2 separate regions of the Homo sapiens genome follow, and region 1 is linked to region 2. Evidence: promoter capture Hi-C in 16 types of primary human blood cells and fetal thymus (Javierre and others, 2016). All regions are on one chromosome and are shown on one strand. The core of a region is centred on a gene start or on the middle of the fragment in contact, and the rest is flanking DNA. Distances in the headings are between cores, read along the strand shown. Region 1 overlaps PROS1 (protein S). Region 2 holds the start of ARL13B (ARF like GTPase 13B).

The links. The method cuts DNA at HindIII sites, captures the fragments that hold promoters and counts their contacts. A CHiCAGO score of 5 or more calls a contact.
Region 1: a contact is called between a fragment that was not itself captured here and the fragment with the promoter of ARL13B in region 2, in 1 of 17 cell types (megakaryocytes). The highest score is 5.3, in megakaryocytes.

Annotation. Positions count from the first base shown.
Region 1 is chr3:93,897,711-93,905,440 of GRCh38, forward strand. PROS1 (protein S) reads right to left here. Exons shown (of 15, transcript NM_000313.4): 7 at 3,094-3,219; 8 at 738-859. Among named protein-coding and RNA genes, the nearest start is that of PROS1, 72 kb to the right of the region's middle. The HindIII fragment of the contact is 736 bases long and covers 2,733-3,468 here.
Region 2 is chr3:93,977,235-93,983,865 of GRCh38, forward strand. It overlaps ARL13B (ARF like GTPase 13B), which reads left to right and starts at 2,921. Exons shown (of 10, transcript NM_001174150.2): 1 at 2,921-3,248. The coding sequence starts at 3,190. RefSeq lists enhancers at 2,529-2,688, 2,959-3,088. The HindIII fragment of the contact is 5,745 bases long and covers 1-3,563 here.

The DNA.
Region 1 (7,730 bases), core at 1,851-4,350, 79 kb before region 2:
ATTTTTTATGGTCTGCCTCATAATAATATATAATTTTACCTTCACTTGTCAAAAAAAGATGCAGGAAAAAAAGAGCTCAGATGGTGACATTTATTTCAATGAAGTAAAAATGAGCACCTACCCCCAATATTCAATTCCTGGGTCAATTATGCATTAAATCTAAGTAATTAAAAGCAAGTTTGAGAGACACAGATTAAGAAATCAACCTCTCTGAATTATGATATACTTAAACCCCACTAAATCCTAGAAATGGTTAAAAGGGTACATTAAAACTGCACTTGTACCCTCTGAAATTTTATGAGCACTTTATAAACCCTATAACGCCTAAGGCATGATCAAACTAGTCAGAGTGGAATCCAGAAAAGTAGACACTGGAAAATGTTTTCACTGAAGTTTCTATGAGAGATTTTTTTTCACAATGAGGGCTATTAAACTCAGCTTTTCTTGATTTCTTAAGTAAACATACAAGTTGTATTTTATAAATGTACAGACTACAGATAAGTACTCTCTAAACTGTGACTCTACCCTCTTTTTTTTAAACCCAGCCACTAATTATCCCCAATGTTTATGACTTACATGACCATAATTAGTAAATAATCATGACTCATAACCTGCTTAAAGCTACAGCAATTATTGCAGAACGTCTGTATTTTCCTGACTTAGCTATGTGAAAATAAGTATCTAGGATCTCTCATTTTAGAAAACAGGTGAGAAGTTAAGCATTGTAAAATGTTTACCTCACAACTCTTCTGATCTTGGGCAAGTTTGAATCCTTTCTTCCCATCACAATAGCAAGTGTAACCTCCAGGGTAATTGACACAAAGCTGAGCACACATGTTCTCAGAGCATTCATCTATATCTGAGGTAAAAAAAACACACGCACACAAACTTTAATATCCCCTAAATGTTCAATCTTATAGGCAGAGGAATATTATGATTGTAGTATGATATAATCAATGATAATCGAACCTTAGGGAAAGAAATACTATGACATCAAACTACATTTAAACATAATACTGAACATGGAAATTTAAACGAGTTACAAGTATAGTTTTTATTTACATATTTGAAACAAAAATTAATTTATAACTTTCAGTGATTAAGTAAAGTATAACAATTCTACCAAATTTCTCATTTTGAATTTGAAGAAAAAAAAGATTGAGAATCTCAACTTAACTGTCATTTCTGATCATTTGAATTTCATTGAGATTACCTCACAATTCATTGCTTTGAAAAAAAGAAAAAAGAAATGAGAAGGGAAAGAGGAAGGGAGAGCATGATGGGGAAGTAAAGGAAAGGAAAGTTAGGGAAGGGAAGGGAAGAAAAGACCCCTTTAACTGAAGGTTGATACAATCAGGAATTAAATGACAATATCAAGAACATTGGAACACTCATAATGCGATAATTAATGTTGGCAGTGAATTTAGGGAAATATCTGTTTTTTTTTTTTTAAAAAACCTCACTGTGATGTAATCTCCCATATTATGAAATCTTCTATATGGTCCCTGTCCCTACTCCATATTTTGAGAAAATCATTCTTGGAAATTTATAATATTATGTTGAAGCAAACATCTATCTCAGAGTTATATAAGATCATTGACATTTTCATTGGATATGCCCTATGACCTTTAAAACTCCACAAGCTCATAAATGCTATTATTGAATATGTTCTCATAAAATAATTTAAAATAGATTCCCAAAATTAATAATCCTTAGTATTAAAATTGCATATTATTAAAGTTATAGATAAGAGTCATATATAAATCTTTTTAAAAAATATGTCATTCATTAAATAAAACTACAATACAAGTGATGAAGTTGGCTAATGATAATTCCGCAGACATCTAGAGTTTTCCACGGTAATTTCTATCTGCAATGGTGAGAAAGGAGAAATGTGTTGCGGGGGCTGGCAGGGGAATATTTTTGGTGATTGCAAAAGGAGATGATAGGACATCAAAATCTCAAAAGCAGCATACGTAGTTAAAAAATATATTGTAAAATTATTATTGATTTAGGCAACTTCATAGAGACAGAAAACAAGATTAGAGGTTACCGCCATCAAGGTAACTAATAAAAGAAAACTCACTGCTTAATGGTTACTGCTTAAGAGTTTCTGTTGGGGCTGATGAAAAAGTTTTGGAAATAGCAGTGATGGCTGCATAATGGCATGAATGTAATTAATGCCACTGAACTGTACATTTAAAAATGGTTAAAAGAGTACATTAAAACTGTACTTGTAGCCCCTAAATCTATTTTTTAAAAGGTACATTATACATGTGTGTGAATATACATACATACATATATATATACAGATACAATAGAAAAATTAGTGTTGATTAGTTCCAGCCATGGCAGTAAATCTGTTTTAAAATTTTAAAAAATCGAAAGGAAGGTATGAGATAATCTGTATATCATAATAAACAAACCTACAAACAAACAACTATAATATGTTGAAGCTTCCTGATGCACACAGGGCAGCGCCACTGCAGTCACATGAAGTAACAGCACCTTTAAGGGGTTGCCCCAAACCCACAGGCTCTGACATTACCGATCAGTATTTCTTAAATTTCTAGAGTATTGTTATCATTTCTTTATCATGAGATAATAGAACTGTGTCATTTTTTATTTTAGAATAAATGATTTATTTATATATGCACAGAAAAATCACTGAAAAGCTTGGAATAAAAACTAAAGTTTTAACCATGCTCATTGTCTCAATAAGATGATTTTTAAGCTTGTGTCTTTCTTTTCTATCTACTGTTTTTCCTTCCAAAGTGAAATTCTCTTTATCTTTGAATATGATATAAATGATGTGAAAATATGTTTATCTTGTTTTTACCACACATGGAGGTCTCCAATTCATAGGTAGCTCAAAGGGCCAACTGGCGTGCCTAACACCAAACTTAAAGACCATATGCCTTACATACTCTTGCTCTGGAAGGAAGGAAGCCAATGATTACCCAATTGAACAAGCTATATTAGGGATAAGAAAATATGACTGTTGATGTCAAACAAAGCCAATGCTTTTAAATATCAGTTCAGGGTTCACACCCACCCTCTCCACCATCAGTAATGATACCACCATCATCCTACCTTCACAAGACTTTGATTTGAGATTATATCTGTAGCCTTCGGGGCATTCACATTCAAAATCTCCTGGGATGTTCTTGCACACAGCTGTGCCACAAATGCTTGGCTTCAAAGAGCATTCATCCACATCTATAAATAAAATCACTATATTAAAAAACATTTTTCCCATACCAGCAGACACTACCAAAGAACCCTTGATTTGTGTTTCCTGGATCTTGTTTAATATATGTAATGAGATAACAGATTGGCCTTTGGACCAAAAAACATTAAATCTATCATCATATGTTAGCTCACTAAATATGATTTCTTTCTACAAATGCAGAGGGAAATTTGATTGATGTTTGCCATGTTCCTTTCTAGTTATGTTAAGAAGGAGAAAGCTTTAGAAATTTTCTTATCTGCCAGGTTGTGGTGCGAAAATAAATGGAGGTCTTGAAAACAGATTCACTCCATATTATCACAAGTATTTTTTGTACATGGGAAGGCTCATCTCTTCTATCTTGTTTCTTTGGAAATGAACAAACATCTAATTAGTACACTACTATTGTTGTCTAAAGTAGACAATAGTGATTCAAATTTAAAATAAGATTAAGGTCTCTAAGTACTTATAAATCTGCAGTTAATCCAATATGAATTTAGTGCTAAATGAATATTCCAGAAATTTCAGATGCATATATTATATTGCCAAATGAAGAAGGAGATAACATATTGTTAGCAATTAGTTACTAGATGAGCACCTGTGAAGAAAACAAAACATGTGACAGAAATAGTTCAATGGAGACGGAATTATTAGTGAACTATTCTGTGTACTCTCTGGAGAAAGACAAATTCAGAACAGAAAATATGTTTTCTATTCTAAAAGTTGACAGCTTTTTTTCCAGATTAATAGTCAAAATTTAGGATATTATTTAAAATAACTTGCACAAAAATAATAAAACCAGTTCCCTTGTAGGAATTTTTCTATATTTTGACTGTATCATTGTCAATGTCTTGAGTGTGAAATTGTACTATCATTTTGTAAACTCTTACCACTAAGGGAAAATGGGGTAAAGGGTATATAGCATCTCTCTGTATTACTTCTTACAACTTCATGTGAATCTTTAATTAATTCAAAGTAAAATATCCGATTTTTAAAAAGAGCTAAAAACTCTATGTTTTTGAAATAAAGTAAGCCTGAGCAACAGTGGGACACTGTCTCTACAAAGTTTTTTTTCTTAATTTAGCCAGGAGTGGCCGGGCACAGCAGCAGTGCTGTAATCCTAGCACTTTGGGGGTCAAAGTGTTCGAGACCAGCCTGAGCAACATGGTGGAACCCCACTTCTACATATTAAAAACAAAAAAGGAAAAGAGAAAAAAATTAGCCAGGAGTGGTGGCATGTGTTCTTGTTACTAAGGAGGATAAGGCAAGAGGATCACTTGAACCCAGAAGCTGGGGTGCCTTGAACTATGATTGCACCACTCCACTCCATCCTGGGCAACAGAGGGAGACCCTGTCACTAAATAAATAAATAATAAAATAAAATAAAATCAGTAAAAATATGTCAATAAGTGTATTTGGTTTGAGGCATATTGCAGGGAATTATTTAGATCATACAAGTTTAAGTTACAGTACATTGGTTTTATGACTCCAAACTGACATCTAATGTCTGACTGAAAGGTTGTATTCTTTCAGCTGGGCACAGTGGCCCATGTCTGTAATCCCAGCACTTTGGAAGGCCAAGGTGGGCAGATCACTTGAGCTCAGGCGTTCAAGACCAGCCTGGTCAACATGGCAAAACCCCGTCTTTACCAAAAAATACAAAATTGGACAGGCGTGGTGGCATGCGTCTGTAGTCCCAGCTACTCGGGAGGCTGAGGCAGGAGAATCACTTGAACCCGGGAAACAGAGGTTGCAGTGAGCCGAGCTCACACTACATTCCAGCCTGGGCATCATAGCGAGACTCTGTCTCAAAAAAAAAAAAGAAGAAGAAGAAGAAAAGAAAAGTTAAGCTTTATTCTTTCATCTTTAGACAGTTACTGGCAACTGGATCCCAACCATTTCTACATCTTGGCAAAGGTCTCATTGTAATAGTGTTTTTTGTGGTTTTGGTTTGTTTGTTTGTTTGTTTGTTTTGAGACAGATCTGTTGTGATCTCAGCTCACTGCAAGCTCTGCCTCCCGGGTTCACGCTATTCTCCTGCCTCAGCCTCCGGAGTAGCTGGGACTACAGGCACCCGCCACCACCCTGGTTAATTTTCTGTATTTTTAGTAGAGACGGGGTTTCAGCGTGTTAGCCAGGATGATCTCGATCTCCTGACCTGTTGTTGATCCACCCACCTCGGCCTCCCAAAGTGCTGGGATTACAAGCATGAGCCACAGTGCCTGGCTGTAACAGTTTTTTATATATTCTTCTATCTGTTTTATACGTTATTACTTACATATCATGACTAAACAATAATGCAAATGAATATAAGAACAGATGTGGTCATCAGGAACATTCCTATTAATAAGAGCACTTTTGTAATCATTTACACATATATATGTGTATTAACTGAGTGGATAAGAATTAAATACTTTTTAATTTTTAAAAAGTCACAAATTTGGCCAGGTGTGGTGGCTCATGCCTGTAATCCCACGACCTTGTGAGGTTGAAGTGGATGGATCACTTCAACCCAAGAATTTGAGACCAGCCTGGACAGTATGACAAAACTCCATCTGTCTCTGTACAAAAGCTACAAACATTAGCCAGGCATGGTGGTGCACACCTGTAGTCCCAGCTACTTGGGAGGCTGAGGTGGGAGGATCTCCCAGGAGGTTGAGGCTGTATTGAGTTGAGATCGTTCCACTGCACTCCAGCCTAGGTGACAGAGCAAAACCCTATCTATCTTAAAAAAACAATAAAAACACAAATTCTTTAGAAAGAGACTATTAAAGTATTTAAGCGTAGAAGTAAGAATGGGTACTATTTGTTTACAAAATGCATATGGTATCCAGCATTGTGATGGTTTTTCTATCACTCATGTCCTAATGACAGTCTTTTTTTTTTTAATTATACTCTAAGTTCTAGGGTACATGTGCACATTGTGCAGGTTAGTTACATATGTATACATGTGCCATGCTGGCACGCTGCACCCACTAACTCGTCATCTAGCATTAGGTATATCTCCCAATGCTATCCCTTCCCCCTCCCCCCACCCTACAACAGTCCCCAGAGTGTGATATTCCCCTTCCTGTGTCCATGTGATCTCATTGTTCAATTCCCACCTATGAGTGAGAATATGCGGTGTTTGGTTTTTTGTTCTTGCGATAGTTTACTGAGAATGATGATTTCCAATTTCATCCATGTCCCTACAAAGGACATGAACTCATCATTTTTTATGGCTGCTTAGTATTCCATGGTGTATATGTGCCACATTTTCTTAATCCAGTCTATCATTGTTGGACATTTGGGTTGGTTCCAAGTCTCTGCTATTGTGAATAATGCCGCAATAAACATACGTGTGCATGTGTCTTTATAGCAGCATGATTTATAGTCCTTTGGGTATATATTCTAAGTAGTCTCAAAATCCAAACTCAAACAGACCTTCAAATAGGCAGATAAGAAAGATACATGATCACAAATTGGATAACTGTTTAGAAGAATTTGTTGTTAATGTAGTTCACTTTAGAGTCATTTAACTGCAGTTTAAATAATATTATAGTACATTTTATCATACTAAACACTGCTATTCAGTAAGAGATGGATGATTTGAACATGAATCCAATTTAGGGCTTTACCAAAATATATATAAAATAAAGAGTCGAACAAGAAATTCACATTTTAACTTACTTTTTTTTTTAACATTTTAGCAAAACAAGCAAACAAAAAGTACTGGAGGAGAGAACTTGGATATTATATTGTATCCAGTTTCTAAAGGCAAATTTTAAGTCCAGGTGGGAAATTTTATTTTTAGTCATCCATACACCTGGTATGAATACTTGAAGATTTAGTCATAGCATTAACACAGCCAAACTGAAAGACAGTATACAAAGAGAAAAAAAGTCAAAATTTAGGGATAGGAAAACAATGAAAAACAAAACAAATACACTAGTAAAATGACTTGTTAGAAAGCTAAACTAACAGGGAATATTTAAGTCTGAAGAAGAAAAAGGAGTTATGACCAATGATATGATCTTAAAGGTATAAAGAGAAAGAAAACTAGATCTTTTACTTTCCCAAAACCACAACAGGAAATGAGGTGCCAGATGAAGGGCTGATGTTGGAAATCAGAAAAGTATTTCTGAAAAGGAAAAATAAAATACAATGGAAGAGGTTATTGCAGTGGATTTCTTTCTATGGCTATGTATCTTACTAGAAGAGAATAAAAAATATAATGTCTGAAAACAGGATAAACAATGATTTTGCAAAGTTTGTAGCATGCAAAGACTTGCATTGAAACATCACTTTATAATGAAATTCCTTATTGAAACATACACACAAGTGTGTACACGCACATACAATAAGAAAATTTTTAAAAATTGTGTTATCAGTACTGTAAACTAAAATGCAGGCCAGGCAGAGAGCTCCCATCTGTAAACCAAACACTTTGGGAGGCTGAGACAGGAGGCTCACTTGAGTTCAAGATCAGTTTGGGCAACATGATTAACCCCATCTCTACAAA
Region 2 (6,631 bases), core at 1,671-4,170:
TATATATATTAAATAATAGAAAAGAAAACCGATTTGGTAATTAGGAAGATATAAGTTATATCAAAAAATATGCTTTCAGTAGTTAGATGGGACAGAAGCCCAATCATAGTAAATGGATCAAAGAGTGAATACAAACAATATAACTTTAGGGTTTGCAAGACACTAGTTTAAGAAAGTGAGTCATGAAAGTAGAGTCAGCAGAAACAGTCCTAAATTGGCTTGGAGTTAATGGAGCATTGCAGTCTTATCCTGCCCTGCTCTCCTGTCTCCCACCATGGATATTTGGAGGTAGGAGGACACATACCATAAGTGTTTATGGGACAGGTGACACCAACTTTAAAATTTGCTATCTATTATTTATCAGAAATTACACTTGAGCTTCATTTCTCTCATTTCATCACCTTAGCAACCTGGAAAAGTAGGTATTTTAATTTCCATGTTATAGATAGGGTTGTTGGAGCTTAGAAGAAAATATCCCAGAATAAAGGCCTCAGAAGCAAAGTTTCTGTCTCTAACCTTCTGTTCCTCGTCTCTTGCCCCTCATTCTCCCACTATGCAAGCCATAGAAACTATAATTCCTCTTTCTCCAGGTGCAGTTATAGAAACCACAACCCCCTTTCCCCAAAGCCAGCCACAAACCCCAAAATATTACTCTAACCTTCTTCCTTTCCATGAAAGACCTGCCCATAAATAAATTCTTTGACTTGCATTGTTTGATAGTACGTCTTAAGACTCCCATTCTAGAAAGGGTCCTACCCCATACCCTGGAAGAAGGAATGCTGAACAATCAGGTCAAGAGGAATCTGAACAGACAGGCCTTGCTGAGTTTCTCCACACAGTCTGCTCTCATTAGGTCATATCCTTTTTGACCAATGAGAGTTCTTCAGGGTTTTTCATTCTTCATCGAACCCAAGTATAAAAATGGGTAGTCTTCCCTGCATCTTTGCATCTCCATTTGCAAGGTTCCCATGTCACATAAAACTTGGATTAAATAAATTTGTTATGCTTTTCTCTTGCTATTCTTTTTGTTATATGAGTGTTGGCTGTGACTGTTATGATGAGAAGAAAAGGTATCACCCCCTTTGTTCCCCATAAGGCACAGTATTTTGGAGATAGCAAGCTGTATGAGATGTATATAAATTTGAATTAAAATTACATGAGGCTGGGTGCCATGGCTCATGTCTATAATCCCAGCACTTTTGGGAGGCCGAGGCAGGCGGATCATTTGAGGCCAGGAGTTTGAGACCAGCCTGGGCAACATGATGAAACCCTGTCTCTACAAAAAATACAAAAATCAGCTGGGCGTGATGGTGCACGTCTCTAGTCCCAGCTACTTGGGAGACTGAGGAAGGAGGATCACTTGACCCCAGGAAGCGGAGGTTGCAGTGAATCGAGATCATGCCACTGTACTCCAACCTGGGTGATAGAGGGAGACTCTGTCTCAAACAAAACAAAACAAAACCAAAAAAAGTTACATGATTTAGTAAAGGACAGAGACTAATTTAAAACCTATATGTATCTTAGTCTCAAATCATTATATTCCCCGCGAATACACTGGGATTCTCAGTGCCTTCTATCCTTTCATCAGGATTTGAAAATATTTATTTAAGTAGAAAATGAATGGACACACAGATCCCTACATATTGTGCATAATTTTTTCCCTACAGGAATGTCCTTGTCATTTCTTTTTCTCCAAAGTATATAAAAGAAATGCAAATATTACATACCTCTTTAAAAAATAAACTATTACAAAACAGTCAAGAGATAACAATCTTCATCTTGCAGATACCAAATAGCCAGCAATTTATGTACCTAAAAATCCTGAAACAAACATACATCAAAATGGTTATTTATTTATTTTTGAGACGGAGTCTTGCTCTGTTGCCCAGACTGGAGTGCAGTGGCGCGATCTCGGCTCACTGCAACCTCCGCCTCCCGGGTTCAAGCAATTCCCCTGCCTCAGTCTCCAGCGTAGCTGGGACTACAGGCGCGTGCCACCACACCCGTTTTTGTTTTTTTTTGTTTTTTTTTTTTTGTATTTTTACTAGAGACGGGGTTTCACCATGTTAGCCAGGATGGTCTAGATCACCTGGCCTCGTGATCCGCCCGCCTCGGCCTCACAAAGTGCTGGGATTACAGGCGTGAGCCACCGCGCCCGGCCCCAAATGGTTATCTTTGAGAGCTCCTGTGAGATCTCATTTTCTTCATCTTGTTTCTTTTTAGTATTTTTCACATTTTCTACAAGAAATGCATTTTTCTTTTGTAATCACAATCCCCCCTACAACAAATATCATACAATTCCGTTTCACATATGTAACAGTAATAAACGTTTTAGAGATTAAGGCTTCACTCTCATCTGAACTACTGAGAAAATTTAGCAAGCGAATTTCCCCCTTGTCTTTAACTTACAAGAATTGCCCCAGTGTATTGTTCCTGTAGTCATGCTGCCTAAGTCGGCCAGAATTCTAGAGGGTCCCCATCCCTGAGCAAAAAACAAACAAACAAAAAACAAGAAAAAAGAAAGAAAGAAAAAGAAAAACCCATGCACAAGACCTGAGATCTCTGAATCTCAGTTGGGGACACTGGAGAAAGGAAAGGAACAGCACCGTGGATTGGCAACACATTTTATGTAGGTATAAAGATAGGCCTTGCTGGAGATTTGTCCCGGATCCTCCAGCTTATCTCCGGACGCTCCGGTTGCCTAGTTACGAGAACGAGCTACCTCGAGCTCCGCCTCCTTCTTATAGAGTACTCCCCTTTCTCTTTTCCTAGTCTCGCGCAGGGGCGGGTAGCCAGGACTCTTCAGCCACTCAGAGGCCTCTACCTCAGGACCTCAACCGATGATTGGGCGAGCGCAGTACGGGCGTTGCCTGGGGAACGCCTTCCGCGCCTCGAAGTAACGTCAGCACGTCGACGCGGGGCTTTTCTTTAGCCGGGTCCCGCTAACTCGGCTACGGTGTATCTGCGTCTTTGGTCAGGTTGTTCCTTGGCTAAGAGGGCAGTCGTCGCGGACCCACGCGGTTAGCAAGGCTTAGTGCTCGGGCCGGCCGCCTTCACTTCCCTCCCGGCTTTTCCTCCCGACTTATCCACTTTAGGGGCGTCTCGGAGTGCCGGAGGCCCCCGGGGAAGAGCGGGGTGCCGGTGTCCGCTCCGGGCTCGGATGGGAAGTGGTGGGAGGAGCGACCCGGGATGTTCAGTCTGATGGCCAGTTGCTGCGGCTGGTTCAAGCGGTGGCGGGAGCCTGTCAGGTAGGCTGGAGCCAGCTGTCCTGGCCGTCCTAGGGGTTGGAGATGGCTGCGCCCCAGGGGCGAGGCGCCGCCTTTTCCCCGCGCCTGGACGAGTCTATCCCAGGCCGCAAGGGATGCTTTCATTCCCAGGGTGTCCCGGGAGGGAGAGATTGGAGGATGTAGCCTTGTTGTCTGGTCGACTTTCTGTTGCGATTGACAATGCTTACCGTTGTTATATTTTAAATAGGTTTGAATTTGTTAAAAAGTGTGTGTGTGTGTGTGTGTGTGTGTGTGTGTGTGGAATTGAAAACTATCCATTGTGTGTTTTTCCTCTGAAGCTTTTGTAATGGAAATTCTTTTAAAAAGAGGGGGACATGGAATATAGTTTTCATAATATCCGCACATTCCATTCCAAGTCACACCTCCACACAGTTGTATTTGAGGACGTGGGCTTGAAATCTGGCTCCACTACTTAATAATTACATGACTCAACCATTTTGGCCCCACCTTTCTTAAATATTAAATGAGAGTGATAATACTCTGCTTTAGAAATATTGTATTCAATGAGAACAAGTGATAGTGTTTTCTTAACTGTAATGTAGCTTCCAATTTTTATACGGTCTCTAGTAAAACCTTTTAATTGAAAGGGTCCACTTTTTAACATTTCATTTTGAAATGCTGGAAGTATTAATAATTAGTACCTGTTACTTGATATTCATTCATTCAAAAAATATTTATTAAGACAATACCTTGTGCCAGGCACTGTCTTAGGAAATAATCAGTGAAATTGATGCTTTTGAAACTGAGGCCTAACCTATAAAGAGATCTTGTGTTTGTTACACAAATAATGTTGACTTCACATAGTTCTAGTCTGGAATTGGGCCAAGGGTAAGATAAAGCAAAGTTGTTTTTTTTTTTAAATTGTTAACATTTTAAGTATATTTGCCATGAGAATGAACTATCCTTTAAAGAATGAATCTGAAAAGCTACACTTACACATTATAACAGAAAATACATGTCTAGATTGGAAAAAAAGTAACTTTAAATGAAACTAGAGATTCTTCCCCATTATTAGCTCCTAACTGAATTTGAATGTTTTAAATATAAGTAGTAAGATCAACTCTGTAAGTCAAAGATGGGCTGGGTGTGGTGGCTCACGCCTGTAATCCCAGCACTTTGGGAGGCCGAAGCTGGCCGATCTTTGGAGCCCTGGAGTTCGAGACCAGCCTGGTCAATATGGCGAAACCCCGTTTCTACAATAAAATAAACGGGCACGGTGACGCACGCCTGTAGTCCAAGCTACTTCGGAGGCTGAATCAGTAGGATCACTTGAGCCTGGGAGGCGGAGGTTGCAGTGAGCCGATATCGCTGCACTCCCTGAGTGACACAGTGCAACCCTGTCTCAAAAAAAAAAAAAAAAAAAAAAAAGAAAAAAGTCAAAGAGTTGTTTTAGGTGCATAGATTCTGATTTATTTGCTTTAATTATATTCTGGTCTAATTTCACAGTATCTACTAAGACTTGAGGGTCATTCATAATAGTTGACCCCTCATTTTCCTCCGTGTCTGCTTTTAAGAAATGTATTTGGTTTCTGTGAAGGCATGTATATAACTTACGTTCTTTTAACGAGAAACAGTGAAAACGTGTAATTCGAAGAAGGAGTGTTCAATTTAATTCATCATTCTTAGTCTTTCCTTTTCTTAGCAGCTTTTGTATATATACTCTCTGGAATGATTTGTTTAAAGAGAAGAGTTCAGAGAAAGGAGAATGTATTGATTTCCAAGTAGAACAGATAATTGAATTTTCTTAATAAAGCATTATTAAAATTTAGCTGCATAACCCAGAGTGTATTTTCTTCTTTAATAAGCACCATCTAGATTTGTCCTGTCCAGTAGGGTAACAACGAGCTACACGTGGCTGTTGAGCACTTGAAATGTGGCTAGTCTGAATTAAGATGCTGTAAGTGTATGTTTAATACATAGTGGGCTTTGAAAAAAGATTTATTATGCAAAAAAGTCAGCATCTTATCAGTCTTTTAAAAGTATGATTACATGTTGAAATGATAACTTTTGCATATGCTAGGTTAAATAATATATTAGAATTAACTTTTTTTTACTTTTTAAAAAATGAGATTACTAGAGAATTTCAATGTATATGTTGCTTATGTTAACATTTCTGTTGGATCTTACTGCTCTGGATCATAGCCTAATATAAAGGACATAGGTAAACATCTCAATTTGGATAACTGTCAAAGAATTTGAACACAAGTTGGATTACCCCTGTCTTCTAAGTCCCCTTGTTCAATGCCTGATTTATAATAGTGGCTGAATAAATATTTGCCAAATATTGTATGTAGTTCGATTTTTCTTAGTAATAATCATCCTGAAGTAAATAACATTAGCAAGTAGTTCCATTTATTTTACTGGAATAAATGAGAGGTGAGCAAGCTAATTTTAAAAACAAAATTTTGTGCTTTTATGGTGTTCTCTATTTTTTCAACAGAAATTGCCTGTTTGATTATTATGTATATATTTGTTTTCTGTAGAATTTCTTATTAAGATTCCTCTTCATGTTTATATTTTATGAAGATGAAATGTGAGGAGTGAATTTGTAAAAGAGATGATGATGGTTATTAATATACTATATTTGAGATTACTTTGCAGATTTGTTTAATACATTCTGTACCCCAGTACCCATTGTATTTGTTCACCTCTCCTCACTTAGATCCTTTCCTAGTGAGCATATTATTCCAGACATTGGAATCAGGGATTAGATTTGTGTGATAAGGACAAGGCAGGAGTCAGAGATCAAGTGTTAAGGCACCAGTCTAGGTCAGCAGTCAAGATCTTATAAAAGTTTAACGCTTCATCCCCCTTAGTGGAGTACTGAACCCCACTTATTTGGGGTTTGGTATGGCCCCATTCATGAATTTTGGTTCAGTTTGGTACGGCTCCATTCATGAATCAATGAATGTGGAAATAAACTCTTGAAATTTTATTGTTCCTAAGTTTATCTTTTAAAAATATGTTACCAAATTGCTCCTCAGAAAGGATTAAAAAAGAGAAAACACAGTTTCTACTCCTACCAACAGTACGTTGGAGTGCCTTTTTCACTGAGAAAATCAAGAGTCATCGGTTTTTCATCTCCTTCACATTATAGGGGAACCTGCTTTCTGCTTTGAGTTTCTGGGGTTTTTTTTGTTTTGTTTTGTTTTTATTACTAGGAAGATTAACTTTTTTTCCTTGCGCATTTTTGTTTCTCTCAGCAGTTGTCCATTGATTACTGTTGTGTTTTTTCTATTGGGGCAGGTGTGTTTTCTTAATGAATTTTTAAAAAGAAATTTTAAGTGTTTGTCGTAGCTACTGTTTCTCTGTAGTACAATTGACACTTGAACAACGCAGGGTTT